2 separate regions of the Homo sapiens genome follow, and region 2 is linked to region 1. Evidence: promoter capture Hi-C in 16 types of primary human blood cells and fetal thymus (Javierre and others, 2016). All regions are on one chromosome and are shown on one strand. The core of a region is centred on a gene start or on the middle of the fragment in contact, and the rest is flanking DNA. Distances in the headings are between cores, read along the strand shown. Region 1 holds the start of EPB41L4A (erythrocyte membrane protein band 4.1 like 4A). Region 2 has its middle 54 kb from the start of WDR36.

The links. The method cuts DNA at HindIII sites, captures the fragments that hold promoters and counts their contacts. A CHiCAGO score of 5 or more calls a contact.
Region 2: a contact is called between a fragment that was not itself captured here and the fragment with the promoter of EPB41L4A in region 1, in 1 of 17 cell types (M1 macrophages). The highest score is 6.2, in M1 macrophages.

The regions. Positions count from the first base shown.
Region 1 is chr5:112,417,513-112,421,105 of GRCh38, reverse strand. EPB41L4A (erythrocyte membrane protein band 4.1 like 4A) reads left to right here and starts at 1,829. Exons shown (of 23, transcript NM_022140.5): 1 at 1,829-2,165. The coding sequence starts at 2,067. It overlaps EPB41L4A-DT (EPB41L4A divergent transcript), which reads right to left and starts at 1,523. Exons shown (of 1, transcript NR_027706.1): 1 at 128-1,523. RefSeq lists a silencer at 1,075-1,164. The HindIII fragment of the contact is 9,034 bases long and covers 1-3,593 here.
Region 2 is chr5:111,144,914-111,148,506 of GRCh38, reverse strand. No RefSeq gene overlaps it. Among named protein-coding and RNA genes, the nearest start is that of WDR36, 54 kb to the right of the region's middle. The HindIII fragment of the contact is 1,186 bases long and covers 1,321-2,506 here.

The DNA of each region.
Region 1 (3,593 bases), core at 580-3,079:
AGCAGAAATGCTAAAATCTAGCATAATAAGGTGTCACCTCATAAGGCAGGCAAGACTTTGACAATAAAACAAAGCTGGACACGAAATTTGATCAGAAATTCAAAACCTGAGTCAATTTCACAGAAAATTCAGAAGATAAAATAGTTTTATTCATAGCCTAGGTAAAGTTCAGAAATTTATATTGCACTTTGGCGGTTATGCTGATCCTGTGTTTGGATGGGGTCACAATAGCAGGGAAGGCCGAGGCTTCCTACAGAAGGTCCTTTGTGGCAAATCACTATGAGAGGAAACTCCATCAAAAGTCGCCAATTGTTCATTTCATTTCTACTGTGCTACGGAAGCCTGGTTTTGTTTTAAGGGCTAACGTCCTAGGTTTTAAGCAATTTTTTTTGAGCTTTGGCTACCCAGCTAACAAGCAGTAGAATAGTCAACTCAAAACTACGTCTGATGCCAAAGCTCTAACTCTAAAACTCAATATAGAGTTTTTTTTCTGTGACACCTCCCCTCGTGTCTCCCCTAACTGCGACTCGCATTAACTCGCTGCTGGTTCCCAGCTGGAGAGCACAGATTGCACCTGCTCCGAAGCCCAGCGGGGCTCAGTGTCGTCCGCAGCTCAACCTCGGCTGCCTGTGCACGGACATCGGGACCCACCAGGGGTCACTGCAGCTTCAGAGCTATTGTGCCCCTCAGTCCTGGACGCGGCCGACCGCGCGGAGGGCGTGGGATTGGGACCGCCGAACCGTGGGGTCCGAGCAGCACCGCGTCCTCTTCTCCCCACCCAGCCTCCAGGTCTCTCGGGGGAAGGACGCAGCGAGCGCTGGACTGCCCCGCGGCTTGGGCGCAGTGTGCGGCTTGGCAGCGTGGACTCGCCGGCACCTCGCCGCTGGGACCACGGTCTCTGCCCCGCCCTCCGCCCCCAGCTGATACCCCGCCCAGAAGGGGCTCCCCTGCCGCGGCCAGCGCTGGACTGGGGGGTCCGCTTCGTTCCAGGGCTTTTTGCAGACGCCTGGACCGGGCCCACATGCACCTGGGCTGCTCCCGCCCGGGGCGCCACCACTCGCGCGGCCAAGAGAACTTTCCCCGGAGCCTCTGCGGCCTGGCGCGCCCAGGGCGCACCCCCCGCTCGCCCGTCCGCCGCGTTCCCAGCTGGGGCGTCGCTCCTCCGCCCGCAGGTCCCCGCCTCCCCGCTTTGCTGAATGTCCTGAAGAAGCCGTATTCCGCCGCCGCGGCAGGCATTCCCGGAGGGAGAGCTTGAACTTGGCTACACACGGCCACCCGTAATGAGCTCGGGAGTCCCCGGACGGGAGCCACACCCCGCGACGAGCTGACCTCCCCTCGCTGGTCTGGGTAAGGAGCCTGCTGCCCTTTCCGCCTCTCTTCCGGCTCCTCGGCGCTTGCGGCTGGGGGACGGGGTAGCGGACGGAGCGACGACCTTCGCCTCTGCCCCTGCGCCCATGGTCGGGGCGTCGTGGGTGCTCCTCACACAAAAGAAAAGCCGAGCGCTTCATACTCGGCGGATCTGACCCGGGGCTGCGGGGCGGGGTCGCGGCTGGAAGTGCGCGCCCGCGGGGGACTCCGCAGGCCGATCGGACGCCAGGACGTCGGGGCCGCGCTCAAATCCGTGCGGCAGGAGGGAGGTGCAGCGCTTCCAGGGTTTTCCAAGGCCGGGGAGAGCCTCGAATTCCCATCACTCCTTTTTCTGGTCTCTTGCCCCCAGTGCCAGGAGACTTTTGTCGTCCCCAGGACTGCGGGAGGGGCCCCGCGCCCCCGCCTTCGGAGGAGCTCGAGCCGCAGGATGCGCGGGGACGCGCCACCGCCCTCCGCGCCCAGTTCCGCCGGCGCTTCCCCGGCGGCTCCCGGGCGCTGACTCTCCCGGGCTTTTCCGCCTTTCTCGCTCCCGCCCCGCCGGGCGGTTCGGCGGCCGGTCCCCGGACCCCGCCGGGAGCTGCTCGTCTCACCCTCGCCACGGCGCGGACAATAAATTAATGCATCGCGCTTGAGTGGAGGGGGCGGCTGGGCGCCTCGGTGGTAGCTTTCTCTCCTGGCTGGAGACGACCACAACCGACATGGGCTGTTTCTGCGCTGTTCCGGAAGAATTTTACTGCGAAGTTTTGCTCCTGGATGAATCCAAGTTAACCCTTACCACCCAGCAGCAGGGCATCAAGGTGGGTGCGGCCCGGAGCGCGTTCCGGGGGTTGGCGGCAGGGCGGGTGCGGGGGTCCATCGCTTTGAGGGCTGTCACCGGTGGGTCGAGGGCGGCGGCCGCGACTCTGCGCGGTGGGGAGGAGAGGCCGCTGTCCCCTGCGCGCAGGGAGAGGGTGGACGTACCAGGGTGAGTTAACTTTGAGTTCCTTCATAAAGCAAAGTTGAGTTTGACGTTTCTAAGTTTACTCAGCACACCGGCTCCCAGCAGCACCCCAAAACTCTTCCCCAAACCGGTTTTCTCCAAAAGCCTCTGGGTGCCCCGCAGCTCTCAAAGAGGGGCAGAATGGGTTATACCAGCTGCGTCCCACCAGTGTGGAAGGCATGGTTTCCCTCGACTTTGTTGAAGGCGTTTTCCTTGACAGTGTTATTAGGGAAGTGAACTAGTTCACTCGTTGAAACGCATTAATGGGTCATTGTGATTGTTTTGCGTGGGTTCGTAGTTGGGTAATGCTACGTTTGGACGGAAAATATTTTCCCTTTCTACAGCGACCTGGGTTTATCCTCACATTTAAGTAAACATCTCTCAAAGCGACCCAGTAATAACTTTGCTCCTGTTTGTGGGTCATTAAAATGCAATCACTACATTAACCTAGAGAGCCCAAACAAAAAGGCAGCAGAGCTCGCAGAGATCCTCTTCCTTACATTGGATGAGAAGGTACGTATGTTTGTAGTGACAACCTGACCGACGCGCCTGCGTGCTTGTTTTGCTTTTGCAACAGTGTTAACTACCTAAAGGAGATCTAAATCCGGAGCGTTTTGTTGTTTTGTTTATCTTTCTCTTTCAGTTTTAGATCGCTAAGGCATTTTAGATAAGGCAACAGCTGAGTCTGGTGAAGGGAAACCGCCCCCCCGCCCCCGCTCTGATAGAGCTGGCTTTCTGAGAAATCGAGTTCAGGCTGCCAAGTATCCTCTCTTAGTCGCTTCATCTCAGAAGTTAATCATAATGGGGTAGGCCCTGGGCATTTCCTTTTGTGAATCAGTTTTTACATAGTTTTATGCACACTAGGATAACTATTCCTGGCTAAAAGTTTCAGCGTTAATGTTGCCATTCTTAGTGTACAGAATTCCAGTTTCATAGGTGTAATTCTTTTGCGGGAGAAAGGAGCAAAAATAATCAGTTAAAGCTACAAGATTGTTAACCCTTTCCTTTAGGAGGTTGTTTTGAATATTGTTTCCCCAGTAATTATACTGAGCAAAATTCAGTTCGATTCTCATTCGGTATTTCCTTTCAAGACCAATAAAATAGACTCTTTTCGGGGAGGGTGTACATTTTGTATTTTTAACTTTTCTTTATGTTCCAAAATATTTCTCCTCTCACCCGCCCAATGAAATCAGGAAAATATTGTAACTTACAAGATGATGTAACATTCTTTGGTGTACTGTATGAA
Region 2 (3,593 bases), core at 664-3,163, 1.3 Mb after region 1:
ACTGGACCTTTGTTATCACAAGTGAGGACAGCAATTTGTCCTCACTAGAATAGACTCATATTCTGGATATACATTTGTATTCCTTGCCTTCAATATGTCTGTCAGCACCATTATGGATGAACTTATGAGTTGCTTTATTCATTGCCATGGTATACCCACAATATTGTTTCAAATCAAGAAACTCATGTCATGGCAGAAGTAGAGCATCAATGGGCTCACCCCCATGGATTTCACTGGTCTTACCAAGAACTTGATACTACAGAAGGAAGTGACCTGATATAACGGTGGAAGAGCTTACTGAAGACTCAGTTATGAGGCCAGTTGAGAGATAATATTCTGCAAGGATGGGTATTATTTTACAAAGGGCAGTGTATGCTTTGAATCAACAACCAATACTTGATGCTGTTTCTCCCATAGACATAATGTGTGAATCTGAGAATCAGGTGGTAGAACCAGGAGAGATTCCTTTCACTATTACATTTAATCACCCTCTCTCAAAATTCTTGTTTCCCTTCTTCTCAACTTTGAGCTCTTTGAGTTTGGACATCTTGGTCACTAAGGGAGGAATGCTTCTACCAGGGAAAAATCAAAGATTCCTTTGACTTGGAAATTGAGACTCTACTTATCTTTCAGGCTCCTTGTGCCATGGATTCAACAGGCAAAAGGAGACAAATACGTTATTCTATTATCTGGTTGATTTCTTCTGATTACCAAGGGGAAAAGTATAGCTGCTATTTTCCTAGGGCTAGGGAAGACAGGAAATCAGGGGGTTCTCTGGAATGTCCTGTCGGACTCCACTGATAAGAGATTGTTGAAGGCTGACTGCAAGGCTGGAGCAGGAAGAGACATTCTCTTTCTTCTTTCCTTCCTGTTCCTGTCAGCAGGCCCCCAACAACACTGCACTGATCCAGAAAGAGCAATTTATTCCAGAAGCAATGGTTTATTCCAGTTCACAGTTATTCTAGACTACTAGAACCTCATAGCCTCATAGCATCCACTCGGAGGTATCAAGACCAGTTTACCAATGCCACCTCCTCAGAGATCTGGATTCTTTCTCCATGGTGCACCTCCTCCAAGTTTCTCGGGCACAAATATCAGCCAGGCAGCACAACTCTTCTTAGGGTTCTAAATACCAGATCCATGGGCCATCACTTGCATTTGGACAGGACGCTTGTTTTAGAGGTCCACTGTGTCTAACGGGGGTGCCTGCTCCTCAAGGCCTCTTCTCCAGGCTTCTGCATTCTGGTAATGCCGACCTCTCCTTCTTGTTTCTCTGACCCTACAGGAGGATGGTCTCTAATATATCAAAATTTAGAAGCTTCGAGAAGAGGCCTTGAGGAGAAGCCTGACTAAATCACTTGTCAGCAGTTGCACCTTTAACATACACTGTACATATCTAAGGAAGCATAAAGCAATGAACAGCATTTACTAAAGTATGTTCCCATCAAAACCTTTCAGGTATGAAGTCTTTACCTTGAATCAGACCTCATGTTTTATGGTTTTCACACTTTCTATGTCTAATTTTCATTGTTGGGAAGAAAAGTCATGAGTTAAATTAGGTAAAAATGCATCTTACTGAGTTTAAACTAAACAGTATTTTTAGAAATAAGCAGTTAATCTGAGGATAAAGTCTTACACAAAACAAATAAACAGAGAAAAACCCCCAAAAGTCAAGGACTGATAACATAGATCAACTGATGTTGACAAGAACTGATGTCCACAAGAGCAAAATGGAAAGACAATCTCTGGTTTTTTGTGTGTCACAGATGTGAAATATAGTTGGCCTGCAGTGGGAAGAATACCAAGAATAGGTAAGGATATCACCAAGGAAGGAGAGTACAGTTATCAAGAAAGACTTGAGATACCAGACCATCCTACACAGTACAATGAATGGCATATGAAGAAGTGGATGTACAGAGCTAACTGGGACATCGCATGGTACTGATCACTACCAGGAAGACATCGGATAGGAACCTGGGTGAAATCAGAAGGAACAAAAAGAGAGAGAATTATAATTGTGAGAAATACAATCAGTCTTGAATGTCTGACGACTCTGTGTGCATTGCAAACCTAATTTTCTATTGGTTCTTTCTGGAAAAAGACAAAGGCTCACTCAGAGGGACCTCTGTGACTTGGCCAGGCATCGGTTTCATATACTAACCTATTTCTCAGATTGCTGCCCTGCCCAGGAGGGTTGGACCTCTCAGAGTTGAGAAAAGAAGAGAGTCACTGCTCATAAAAACCCTGTGGGGCAAGATTAGTTTCATCTCCTCTTTACTGAGGAGAAAACTGAGACTCAGATAAGCAAAAGCTGCCTAGCTGGCAGGTGACAGAGCTTTGCTTAGAAGCCAAGTGTCTCTGACTCCAAGGTCGTCTGATGTCATACCTTTCCAACTGTAAGTTCAAAGTGTAGGCAGTTTAGAATTTAGGCTACAATATAAATCCCTTATTAATATCTCTCTCTGTCTCTCTTTTTACTATAATTGGGAAACTCTAACTGTAAGCTTCTTTGGGAGCAAAAATTTTGTGATCTTGTGATACTGTCTCAGTATTTTTTTTCACCTAAACAACTCTACTCTATAACTCTCAAGTTTAGTATTTACTTAGAAGCAGGAGATGTGAAAATTTTGAGTGCCCTAAGTATGTCTGGAAATACCTCAATTTGATTTTCACAGTCCAGTGCTACTCAACAAACTATAACTGAGCACTTACTCTGTGCTAGAAACAGCATTTCTGCTTTCCAAGGACCTCTAAGGTAAGAGATAAATAAACAAATAGTTTTATAACAACATAACTTAATAAAAAATATAAAATTACTATGAGACTTATGTGTAGGATGTTTTGAGTACACCGAATAGGAACACTTAACCCATCCTGGGGTAAGGTTAGTGGTCAGAAGAGGTTCCCCATAAGAGAAAGAATTCAAGTCTTGATGTCTAGTGCAGAAGTAGGAAAAGTGCAATCTGGGGAGTGGGAACATCTATTTAGAAACCACCAAGTCACTTCAAACTCAACTACCCTCACTTCATCCTCAATTACCTCCTTGCATTTGCATGTGCACACCTCTCTCTTTCTCTCTTACACACACACACACACACACACAATTTCTTATCGTGGTGAATAACAATCACACAATCATCCATCCAGTACTACAAATAGAAACCCAGGAGTTGACTTTATTATCCACCTCTCAACTATCACCAAGTCTATTTCTACCTCCTAAATATCTTCTTAGTTGCATCCCACACATAATGATATATCATATTTCTATTACTATTTAGTTCAAACTATTTTCTATATTGTGTCTACTGTTAAATCCATCCAATGAATGTTTTAATTTTTAAATTTATAATTGACACATAATAACTGTATGTTTATGTAGTACAACCTGATATTTTAATGCATATATGCATAGTATAAAGATTAAATTGGGGTAATTATCATATTAACCACCTCAAATATTTATCATTTCTTTGTGGTGGCAATGTTCAAAAATCTTCTAGCGATCTTGTAATATGCACTGTATTGTTATTTGGTACAGTCACTAATGCTGGTGAAGATGCAGAGAAAAGGGGATTTTTATACATCATTGG